3 separate regions of the Homo sapiens genome follow, and all the other regions are linked to region 3. Evidence: promoter capture Hi-C in human tissues and cell types (Jung and others, 2019). All regions are on one chromosome and are shown on one strand. Each heading gives the region's core, a stretch centred on a gene start or on the middle of the fragment in contact. The rest is flanking DNA. Distances are from core to core; before and after follow the strand shown. Region 1 overlaps PSMF1 (proteasome inhibitor subunit 1). Region 2 has its middle 28 kb from the start of SIRPA. Region 3 holds the start of NSFL1C (NSFL1 cofactor).

The links. The method cuts DNA at HindIII sites, captures the fragments that hold promoters and counts their contacts. A contact is called where the count stands out against the background at its distance.
Region 1: a fragment that was not itself captured here is called in contact with the fragment with the promoter of NSFL1C in region 3 in 1 of the 25 tissues and cell types used here (mesenchymal stem cells).
Region 2: a fragment that was not itself captured here is called in contact with the fragment with the promoter of NSFL1C in region 3 in 1 of the 25 tissues and cell types used here (lymphoblastoid cells).

What each region holds. Positions count from the first base shown.
Region 1 is chr20:1,132,580-1,136,805 of GRCh38, forward strand. It overlaps PSMF1 (proteasome inhibitor subunit 1), which reads left to right. Exons shown (of 7, transcript NM_006814.5): 4 at 2,542-2,727. Among named protein-coding and RNA genes, the nearest start is that of PSMF1, 16 kb to the left of the region's middle. The HindIII fragment of the contact is 4,599 bases long and covers 386-4,226 here.
Region 2 is chr20:1,865,190-1,869,075 of GRCh38, forward strand. No RefSeq gene overlaps it. Among named protein-coding and RNA genes, the nearest start is that of SIRPA, 28 kb to the right of the region's middle. The HindIII fragment of the contact is 5,699 bases long and covers 1-3,886 here.
Region 3 is chr20:1,464,515-1,468,465 of GRCh38, forward strand. NSFL1C (NSFL1 cofactor) reads right to left here and starts at 2,335. Exons shown (of 9, transcript NM_016143.5): 1 at 2,206-2,335. The coding sequence starts at 2,310. RefSeq lists an enhancer at 1,564-2,065 and a silencer at 2,360-2,629. The HindIII fragment of the contact is 15,990 bases long and covers 1,435-3,951 here.

The DNA.
Region 1 (4,226 bases), core at 1,435-3,934, 330 kb before region 3:
GCCTTTTCATATAAACTTTAGAGTAAGCTTGTGTATATCTATGAAAAACCTTGCTAGGATTTTGATAGGAGTTGCATTAAACCTATAGATTAGTTTGGGGAGAATTGACATTCTTGCTATGAACATGATATATCTTATCTCTCCATTTATTAATATTTAGGTTTTATTTGATTTCCATCAGTATCATTTGTAATTTTCAACATATAGATCCTGTACATAGCTTGTTATTTGTTTAAAGCAGAAAGGGAGATGATTATGAATGGCATATTCTGTCCTTTGTTTTGGTTTTCAAATGTTCATTGTTAGTGTGTAGAAATGTAGTTGATTTTCCTGTGTTGAACTCTTCTATCCTGTCACCTTGCTGAATTCAAGGTGTTTAGGGTTTTTTTGTTTTTTTTTTTTTTTGGTAGATTCCTTGGGAATTTCAGGGTAGACTATCATGTCATTTGCAAATAGGGACAGTTTTATTCCTTACTTGCTAATATGAATGCCTTTTGTTTTTCTTGCCTTATTGCAGTGGTCAGGATGTCCAATATTATGTTAAATAAGAGTGATGAGAAAGAATATGCTTTCCTCGTTCCCAATCTTAGGAGCAAAGCATTCAGTCTTTCACAGTAAAGTATATTGTTAGGGGTAGGTTTTTTGTAAATGTTCTTTATCAGGTTAAAGAAGTTCCCCTTTATTCTTAGTTTGTTGAGAGTTTTTAATCTTGAATGGATTTATCATGTTGGATTTTGTCAAAAGCTTTTTTCTGTATCAATTGATATGATCATATGATTTTTCTTCCATAGCTTATTGATATGGTAGATTACGTTGATTGATTTGTGACTATTAACCAGTCTTGCATGCCTAGAACAAATCATACTTGGTCATGGCATATAGTTCTTTTTATACATTTTTAAATTCAATTTGCTCATATTTTGTTGAGGATTTTTTTTGTGTGTAAGTTCATAGGATATACTAGTCTATATATGTGTATATATATATATATTTTTTTTTTTTTTTTGGTGTAGTCTTTGCCTGGTTTTGATACCAGAGTAATACTGGTCTCATGAAATGGATTGGAACGTATTCCCTCCTCATATATTTTCTAGAAGTGACTGTAAAATTGGTGTTAATTCTTCTTTGAATGTTTGGTAGAATTCTTCCTGAAATCATCTGAGCCTGGAGATTTTTGGTTTTTGTTTTTTTATTTTATTTTTTTAGAATGTTAAGTGTAATTCAGTTTCTTTAATGGAACTATTCAGATTATCTATTTCATTTTGGCTGAGTTGTAGTTTATGGTTTTTAAGAATTGGTCTATTCTGAGTTGTTGGATTAAGTTGTTCTTAGTATTCTCTTATTATCCTTTCAGTGGCTACAGATCTATTGTAATATCTCCTGTTTCGTTCTTGTTATTGGTGACTGTGTCCTCTCTTTGTATTTGTCAGTCTCGCCAGGAGTTGGTCAGTTTTATTCTTTTTTTTTGAAGAATTGACTTTGTTTCATTTTCTCTCTTGTTTTTCTTTTTTATTGACTTCTGTTCTTACCTTTATTACTTCTGCTTGCTTTGAGTTAATTTGCTCTTCTTTTTCTAGGTTCTTTAGGTCAGAATTTTGGTTATTGATTTGAATTCCTTCCTCTATTTTGATGTAAGCATTTAGTGCTATGAGGTTTCTTCTCAGCAATCCTTTAGTTATATCCCACATATTTTCGTATGTTTTTATTTTCATTTTAATTCAGTGCTATATATTTCTTTTTTGTGACTTTGATCCAAGGATTTTCTAGAAGTATGTTGCTTAATTTTCATGTATTTAGAGAGTTAACTTTTTGTTTTGATTTCTGTTATGATTCCATATGGTTGGAGAACATACTTTATATGATTTCAGTTATTTTACATTTGTGAGCTTTGCTTTATGGGCCAGGATGTGGTTCATTTTAAAATACCAGTGTTTTAGGAAGCCTGGAGTCCTGCCCACTCTGTTACCTCAGCCTGCCTCCACACCTCAGCTGTGGCTCACGTCACTTGTCTCTCACAGGCATAGAAAAAGAGGCCCAGGCAGGATGGGACAGGTGGTAGGGGCAGCCTTCCGAGGACCCCTGAGTTAGTGACAGAACTGGACCTTGAACCCCCAGAGCTCTGCCTGCCTGGAACAGGAACCTGGTTCATCCTCCCCATGGAGCCTTTGCCTTCCATGACCCTTCCCATGACACGTGATGAACACACAATGAAGCTGAGGGAGGGGTGAGGCGGGTGAGGACAGAGGAGTAGCCAATCCAGGCCCTGTGCCCCTACACCCTCACCTCTTTCTAATGGGGTGGTAAACAAGGAGGGGCAACTCAGATGCCTAAGAAGCTTGGGCCCAAATCTCAGAGACAGCGTGGGGCTGTTGCCCCCCTCACCCAGGTCCAGCAGGCGGCCTGTTCCCCCACTTATAAACAGGCCAAGCGCAATGCCAGGAGCTATCAGGGCCGCCGCCGCCGCCGTCGTTGCAGCCAGAATACCACTTCCAGGGTTCCTAGCCAACTGCAAGCAGTTGACTCTTCATCTGCTTCCTGCAGGACCTACAAGAACAGTGAGGAGCTTCGGTCTCGTATTGTGTCTGGAATCATCACACCTATCCATGAGCAGTGGGAAAAGGCTAATGTAAGCAGTCCCCACCGGGAGTTCCCCCCTGCTACCGCCAGAGAGGTGGACCCACTCCGGATTCCTCCACACCACCCACACACCAGTCGGCAGCCTCCCTGGTGAGTACAGAGTGCCTAGCGGGAAGCCCATGCTTCTGTAGAGGGATTCCAGCCAGCTATCCCCATCCTGCCACTTGACCCCATCCCTGGCCCGTATGTGTTTTCAACAAAATGATCAGTGTCTTGGGGTGCATGGAGTTAGAAAGTGGAGACGTAAGTGGAGCAGTGAGTTCTTGAACTGCTACTAGTCACCCTAATTACCCAAAATCCTAAGCCTGCCTGATTTCTTTCTAGGGGCCACACAGAGCCCCTGAGTCTGTCCAAGGATCAGTGCCTCTGGGGCTTATGTGCAGTAGTCTAAGGTTGCTGCCCAGGTAATTCACAGCTAATTCATTCCAGAGCTTTTTGTCTAGACAGGGCCCTGGGCCAGTCTTTCTGAGAAAATGTAAACATGTAGAGGTACTAGCCCAGAGGAGATGCAGTCCCAGTGTCTTGCCCATTTCATTTCATTGTAGTCCCCCAATCTCACTATCAAGTTCAGAAGTTTTCCAAAATAGCATGGGATGTGAGTGAGTCACATTCCAAGGTTTTTGCAGATTAGGATGGCAGCATTAGGACTGGAGACTTCTGCTCAGAGGGAGGAGACAAGGACCAGGGGACCCTAGTCTCTAGCTGAGACAGCACTTCTCAGTTTGGAGCCCGTACTGTGATACCATACTGTTGGTAGGGATAAGGGACAGAGTTCACTGTGAGGGACATGAATAAGCACTTAATAAATGTAGACTACCATTGTTATTTTATTCTGGTTTGCAATTATATGCCTTTAGTTAGCTAAAAATGGGAAATCAGTTTAATTATTCCAAGTAATGATTGGCGTATCTCTTTGGCAAAATCTTTACCAAAAATATTGAGTCCTGTGAAGAGAATGGAGAATAAGAAAAAGTGGTTGAAAAGGTTGAAAATGGCTTGTCTGATATATCTTATTTTACCAAAGGGAATAGAGATAAGATGACCTGCCTGAGTTCGCCAGCCACTAATAAAGAGGCAGAGCCAGGGCTGGGGTCTAGGTGTCCTTACTCCCTGCACAGTGCTCTGGCTGTGATGTAAACAGATGTGATCTAACCACCTTTCCATGGTGGAAAGATTTAAGAATAAGCCCTGGTCAGAAGTCAAGTTGGGAAAAAATTTTAGACCTAAAGTAAATAGTAATTCTCAGCTTTATTAGACCCAATGCCCATTTCAAAACAAGTATTCTGTGAAATATCCCTTACTATATTGAAATGGAATTCATAGGTATTCTAACTTACCTCATGCACATTTCAGAGGAAATCAGTATAAAGTCCTAACTATAACATAAATTAGAAAAAGAGAGTAATTGATAAGATGATGATGTGTATTCCATGCGTAGGTGCCTGAGTACACTGGAGAGCATGGATGTTTACACCTGTATGTGGAATTATCTTGAATTCAACAGTGACAAAGGCTGTTGTATATAGATGTATTATGTCAACAACTCAAATACCACAAAACTCTGTTGCTGTTACTAACATGACTTTTTT
Region 2 (3,886 bases), core at 1,320-3,819, 400 kb after region 3:
AAGGTGGCTTGCAGTTTTACAATTCTTTCCTGGCTTTTTTTTCCTTTTAAAATTTTCACAGTGGATTGTATTATTCGAATAGTCATTTTTGAAAAAATAAAGGAAAACAAGAATGCTTCTTTCTCTGACTCTCTGCCCATCACAAATTTCATCTGTTTCCTCGGGAACCAGGAGCTCCTGGCATTAGGGGCTGTTTGCTTGTACATTCCAGGGTCTACCCACCAGGCAGCCAGGTCTCAGGTCCTGGCCTCATTCCCTACTGTGGTGCACATTTGAAAAGGGGCTGGGGGTTGGGGTGGCCTCCATCAGAGCAACAAACCTGGACTGAATGATTGGTGAGTATGAAGAGGGGAGCCCTCTCTCAACCTGGGATCAGCTACCTGTGAAGACATGTTCTGTCCCAGGAGTCAGAGGGGAGAGGTCTGTGTTTATCCATCTACCTGTGATTGCAAAGGTAAGGCTGTCCAACTCTGAGGATCAGTGTTAGCAGTTCCATTTGCCTGCATGCCCAAGCCACGTTCTCTAAACAGCTTTATCTGTAATAAGCTGACATTTTGTTCCTCACCTCTTGACTCCTCGGTCTCCTACTGCTTCTGAACTTAAGTGAGGAAGAAAGCAACATTATATGTAGATGCCATAAAAATCACATAGTCCATACCTGGCTCCTAGAAATTGGCTATTAACAAAGAGATTAGACACCTATTTTTCTCAAGTTTCCTCTTTTTTCCTTTTGACACCTTGCTTTTCTCTTTTCCTTTTGACACCTAGGACTGTGAGATAGACCCAATGTTCTTGGAAAGATCTAGTAATCTCTCCTGTAGCGAACTTGACGGTATTGTCTGTCTGAGTCCCTTTTTCGGAAAATGGTCCCTCCTCCACACCATGTAAACTTGGGGTTTCCATCAAGATCACCAAAACAAGAGTGGTCATGGGTCCCATTCAGGACCAAAGTGATTTTCTGGGATGAGTATGTGGCATAGATATGGATACATAATATATGTAGGTATATGACATGTATATGATAGATATATATACATGGATGTATGATGTGTATAGAGGATATATGACATATATATGATATATATAGGATATACAATATATGACATATGTGATATGTACATGGATATATGATATATAGAGAGGATACATGATATATGACATACATATTATAGATGTACACAGATAAATGATACATATGCCTCGCTCCTGCCAGCCTTGCTGGGCTTGTTGCATACATGTTTGGGTGTACCTGCTGGTGGCCTGCTTCCCTACCACACATTGACAGCCTGCCTGGAGGCTAAAGCCAACCAGAAAAGATGACCCTGTTGAGTTCCTGTATCCAGCCATTCCTGAAACCACCTTCCTAGACCAGAACCAATACATTCCCTCTTTTCCTTAAGTAGTTTGAGTTGGGTTTTTATCAGTTGAAGCTAAAAGAATCCTGACTAGCATACTGCAGTGAATATATACCGGTTAGAAGGCTGTGACCACCCAGAATCCATGCCCCCTTCCTAAGTAACCCTCATTGTTTAGGAAAATCACCTCTCCTCCATTGAATTCACCTGGGGGAACTGCTGGGCATGACACTGCTCCTTCCTTCACTCCTAGGTCACTACCTACACCCCCACACAAGACCAGGTGAATTGGCCATGAATCCCTTCCAGGCCTGCCCATAAAACCTCCCCCATGCTCCTCCACACCCTGTCTTTTCCTCTCCTCTGCCGGGGGATGCAGAAGATCAAAAAAGAAATCAAGATCCCCTCCCCTGGATGGAAGGACCTGGGTCTCTGAGTGACCATGAGGAGTTGACCTACACTGGACTGTGACCTGAGTGACAAGTAAACAGATTATGAGTCACTGAGATTTGGGGGTTGTCTGTAACAGCAGTTATCCTGCCCTAACTAACACAATAGGCTGGCACATTGGAGAGCTACCTGAGAGCCATTATCCTAAGAGCTTTCCATTCAACCACGAATATTTACTGAGTCCCTATTCTGTGCTTGCAAAGCCCCCTGTGTTTCCTGTTCTCCTGCACTGCCCACGATTGCCTCTCTCCTCGTCTGGCTGTCTTCTCTCTCTAGACGGTAAGTTCCCCAAGAGATGGGTCCTTATCTGTCTTCATCCTCTGCACCGTGTCCCTGGTATCTAGTTTAGCATCAGGAACATAGCAAGTGCTCCGTATTGATTGATTGGATTTGCAAAATGACCAGATGCATAAAGTTGTCATGAGGCTTAAGCGAGGTTCTGATTGTGAAGCGTCATGGCACACAGGAGGTCCCCTGCAAATACAGTAAAAATGAGCTAAATCAAGGTGCATGTGGGCTGGGCAAGGCTTTCAGTGGGAGGGCAGATTTTAGCCAGGACTTATCCTGCCCTATACCCTACAGAGAGCTAAGTTATCTCTGGTCCTGGCTGGTCCCAGGCTCTATGCAGGAGGAAGGATGGGGACCAGCTGCTTCCTGGAGGGAGCCCCAGTCCCAGAGGCTTTGAGCTGTGGTAGGGGTGAGGCAACACTTCAGGAAATAACATTTCAAAGGCTTTGGCTGTGAGAGCAGACTTCTCACCCCTGTCTTGTGTGGAGGTGGGTGTGGGATGCCTGGTGTGCCTCTGGGGTAAAGCATCCCTTTCACGGTTTGAAATCTCATCTCGGGAAAGCTTAACTCCTTGTACCCCATTCTACTGGCTATAGACAGGCTCCAGGGATTTAGCCCAAGACTCCTAGGATAATGTCCAAACTCCATACCTGGGGTAGGAATGGGGGCAGGTGCAGCATGTCCAGCATGATGCAGCAGTTAACAGCCTGGGCTCTGGAGGCAGAATGCCTGGGTTCAAATCCTGGCTCAGTTCACATGGTAGCTGTGAGACTTTGGATGACTCAGCTTATCTGGACCTCAGTTTTCTCATCTGTAAAATGGGATTATAATAGTAACACACTAGAAGATTGTTAGGAAGATGACCTCGCTTTGACAACTAATGGAGTGTTCTTTTCTTTTCTTTTCTTTTCTTTCTTTCTTTCTCTTTCTTTCTTTCTTTCTTTCTTTCTCTTTCTTTCTTTCTTTCTTTCTTTCTTTCTTTCTTTCTTTCCTCCTTTCCTTTCCTTCCTTTCCTTTCTTTCTTCTTCTTTTTTCTTTTTTATTTCAGATCTCACTCTGTGCCCAGGCTGAAGTGCAGTGGTGTGATATCAGCTCACTGCAACCTCTGCCTCCCAGATTCAAGCAGTTCTCCTGCCTCATCCTCCCAAGTAGCTGGGACTACCAGTGCGCACCACCACACCCAGCTAGTTTTTGTATTTTTTTTAGTAGAGATGGGGTTTCACCATGTTGGCCAGGCTGGTCTCGAACTCCTGACCTCAAGTGATCTGCCTGCCTCAGCCTTCTGAAGTGATGGGATTATAGGCATGAGTCACCACACCTGGCCAAGTGTGTTTCTTAAATGTTTTAATTCCTAACATGGTAACTATCAATAGATAAACTGACATAAACAAAATTCTTTGGGGTCCACAGTAATTTTTAAGAGTATAAAGGGGTCCTAAAACCAAAACATTAAAATCCAGTCTCATGTGATAACTTCACACTACACATGCCAGATGATTCACCTGGCGTCAATTCTTCACTTCCTCCTCTCCTCCCCCGACCGGCCATGACCTAGTTTGGACCCTGTGCTCTGTCCAAATGAGCAACTGAGGCACCTACCCAAGGAGGCCATGAGGATTCCTCCCTCCACACCCCTGAACAGCAGCTGTCTACCCTGAATTCTGTGGTTTCACTATCCTTAACGAAATTGTACTTACTCTGCAAGGCCCAGGGGCTTCTGCCTCCTGCAGGAAGCCTGGCTGACTGCCCTAAATGGAGCCCTTGGTCCTCTGAGCTCACACAGCACTGCCCAG
Region 3 (3,951 bases), core at 1,085-3,584:
CCAACACTTACAAGGTAGCTTGCATCCATGGGCCAAAGAAAATTAGACCAGAAGGTTAACAGCTCAGCTGTTAGTCTTCGTGTCAACTGAAACAAATTCCACCCACTAAGGTGAAAAGAAGGCAGTAAGAATGGCTGGGGTGGAAGACACTCTTTATTCTCATTTTATGAAGAAACGTGATCTAGTAAAAGTAGCACACATTTAGTGAGCATTTACATGCCAGGTTGTTCTGAGCATTCTACATACGTTAATTTGTTTAATCCTCAAGAACTCTATGCTATTAGTACTCTTATCATCTCATTTTATAGTTGATACAGAAGCACTGAGGATTAAAAAAAAATTTGTTCAAGTTTACACAACTGGTAAAGAGAGGAGCCAGGTTCCATCCCTGCTAGTGTGCTTAGGCCCTCACTCTTAAGCGCTTCCAGTACAGCCCGGAGTCAGGAACTGTGGAGTCAGTCCAGGTTGCTACTTTTCCTTTCTTTCAAGTTGTTTCCTAATCTGTGAAATGGGGGTACCTGTCTCACCAACCTGCACACTGGATGAGATAATCCATTAAGATTTATGCATACTCGCATCTTAGGTTTACACATACAGAAGGAATATGGGAATCCTTTGGTCATTTGTGACATCTCTGTCACCAACTCAACGGACAGGCATTCACTAATCACTTGCTTTGCACAAACACAAGAAAGCATTGAGGTCACAGAGATGAAATAGACATGGCCTCTGTCCTCAGGGTCACCAACTTCACAGGAGACAGTGAGCTGTCAAGGGATAAAAGTAATCTGCTGGGAGGCAGTGTGCTGTCTCAGGCCATGTAGTGAACTGGCATTCTCAGGGAGCCTACATTCAAGTCCTGTTCCTGCCAGGCAAGTCACATGCATGATCCTCAGTTTCCCCACTACAATGTGAGGGGAACGAGACAGAAGATCTGTTGGTCACAACACTGTGTGCTTTTAGGTCTTTCAGGTAGAAACTTTTTATTTCTGCCCAGCATAGGGGCTTCCCATTGTGTCTAGGTGTGATCTAGGTGTGATGCTTTACCGAATTCTTATGTTTGGGGAGTAATTTACGTTTGGCAGCAGACTCAGTTCAAATTCCAACCCCGCTACTTACTGGCTATGTGACCCTGAGCAAATTCTTTGCCCTCTGTGCTTCCAATTCCTCATCCATAAAATGGGTCTAGTCTTTACCTCATAGTGTTGCTAGGATCCAACGAATCATATTATGTAAAGTGCTTGGCACATGGTGGTTTAAAGCTTGGGCTCTGTCTGCTTGCAATCAGACAGAACTGGGTTCCACTTCTACCTCTTCTGCCTGGTAGCTAGTGAGGCCTTGAGCAAGTTACTTAACCTCTTTAATCTCAGCTGCAAAATGCGAAGGTTAAATGACAAAAGACATGTAAAGCAGTCAGAACAGCGCTTGGCTCATGGTAGGTACTCAATAAATATTAGTCATCACCGTCATCATCTACCTAAGACGAAGCTGGCCAAGAATATTTATGCAATTCTTTCTACAGTTAATTACCGAATGCTTATTATGTGCCAGGCATTGTTCCAGGCACTGGGAATTCATCAGTGTACAAAAATCCCTGCCTCGTGAAGCTTAAGTCTTCTTAGCAAGTATTTAGTGAATACTCAGTACGTGCCAATGAACTACACAGCAATTTCCACGAGACTCCCATTTTACAGATAAGTTAACTACGCAAGGTGAAGAAGCTCCAACCTTGCGCCACCACCCCAGAGGTATTCTCCCAGCAATTAGGAAGGCTGGGCGGCGGTCAACTCCCGGGCTGGACTTCGGAAGTGGAAATGAGCGGCCACCTAGTCCCGAGTGGGGCTTCACCCAAGAGCTGCTCACTCGGACCAGCCCGGCCTCCAGCAGATACTCGGCGCGGCAGCCACGCCCCCAGGCGCTCCCTCTCCTCGCCGGCTGCCGCAGCGCCCGAAGTCTCGCTGACGCCGCAAGCGGGCGAGGCAGGGTGAAACTGGCACGGCAGAACTGGCTGGGGCTGGCCCGCGTTCCCCCACTCCCAAGCCGAGCAGGCGACGCGTGACAAGCGGTCCCGGGACCATGAGGCCTGGGTCGGGCCGCGGTAGAGCGGGGATGACTGTGCGCTTCGGCCGCCGCGGGCTTAAGGCACCAGGCGCCCGCTCCCAGCAGTCCCCGGCCCACCCGACACAGCCCGCCGCGCGGCGCTACCTGCAAGTCCCAGCCGGCCGACTCGAGAAAGAAGCGGGCCCGGTCCTCCTCGGCGCCCGTCACCGCCACGAACTCCCTCAGCGCCTCCTGTCGCTCCGCCGCCATCTTCGCCCCGTGCGCCTTCCAAAGCGCTCCGGCGGCCGCCGCACAGGCCCAGCCCCGCTGCCGCGTTCCGCTTGCCGGTCGACGAGGCCCAGCCGATGAGGGCCCAGCAGCTGGGAGCCCGCCCGCAGCCCCGCCCCACGCGGTGCCTCACGCAAAGCCCTCCGTGCGGGAAGCCCCGCCGCTCCGCGCCCTCTGGCGACCGCGGCGCGAACCGCAGCCTAACGGCGGGGGTGGGAGCCCGAAGGATGAGAGGCGGGGCGGGTCTTACATACACCTGTGGGCTGAAGGCTCCCTGCAGGAGTCAGATTCCCAGTTATTCATTGACGCAGCCCTCATTTCATTAATTGTGCATTCGTTCATTCACTTACTTGTCAAGCATTTACTGAGAGCTATCAATGGCCCGACGTTTTTCTAGGGCTGTGGATATGGCAGGGAGCAAAACAAAGTCCCTGCTCCCATGCTTCTTACATTCTAGGGGTAAAAATTCAGACCTTGAACAGGCTAGGCCTCCGCTCACAACACGTCCATGCCTCGTTATCTCGCCCCGCATAAAAGACAGTCTCATGGCCTGCCTGCAGGACCCATGAGAGATGGGCCAGTTCCTCCCTCTCATCAAGGGATCCGCTAGCTTCCTCTGCTCCAGGCGCCTTGCCCTCCTTGCTGTTCCTGGAACTTGCCAGTTATCTTGCATTTGCCTCAGGGCCGTTGCATTAGCTGCTTCTGTGCCTGGAGCACCTTTCCCTTACCGATGGGCAAGGCGCTCTCCCCGCTTTCTTTGGGCCTCTGCTCCAAGGCCACTTTCTTAGGCACAATCCTGTCTTCTGGGTCCTCAGCTTCTTTGCCCTCTTGCCTCTCCAAAGAGGAACTTACTTGTTCAGCTTACTTGTTCTTTGTTCTCTATTTTCAAAGCCTAACTTCCTTGTTCTTTGTACCTCCTTACCCCTAGTTACGGTAAACAACCTTCCCGCGGGTCCTAATCTATAACTCACATCTGTTCCCTTGGATACCCTCGCTACAATTGCCATTCCCGCGGAAACTCTTCTTCCTGCCGAAACCGCTTGCCCTACCACTGTAGCCCACATTTCTGCTCCATTTGAACTAGCCAATCGGGATTAGCTTAGATTGCGCAGTCCAGCCCCAGCCAATGGGAACAGGACACAGAAGCAGCGACTAACCGCATTAGGGATAAAAACCCCTTCTCTCTTTTGTTCGGTGTGCTTTCCTGAAGACCAGATGTGTGAGTGGCACCCTTCTGCAGAAGTAAATTGGCTTTGCTGAAAAATCTTTTATTTCAGTGCTGGTTTTCCTTGAGACTTCGAGCTTTAATTTCCAACACCACCGTGGGACACTCTTCCCTTCCTCTTCCTCTGTCGGCCCCTGCTCATTCTTCAGCTCTCAGTTCAGGTGTCCCTTTCTCAAGGAGACCTTGAGAAGGTGCCCAGGCTTAGTCAAAACCCCTCTTAATCAGGTTATGAACAGCACAAAGTCCAGTCTTCCCTCAATTGACACAATAGTTGCTTTCCTGGAAAATTCGGTGTCTTATTAACACTGTGCAAGAAATCCTTTAAGTTTATATGACAAACGAGTTAGGGCTTGGGTTAGGTTATTAGGAGCATGGTTGCAGCCACAATAGGCCCTGGC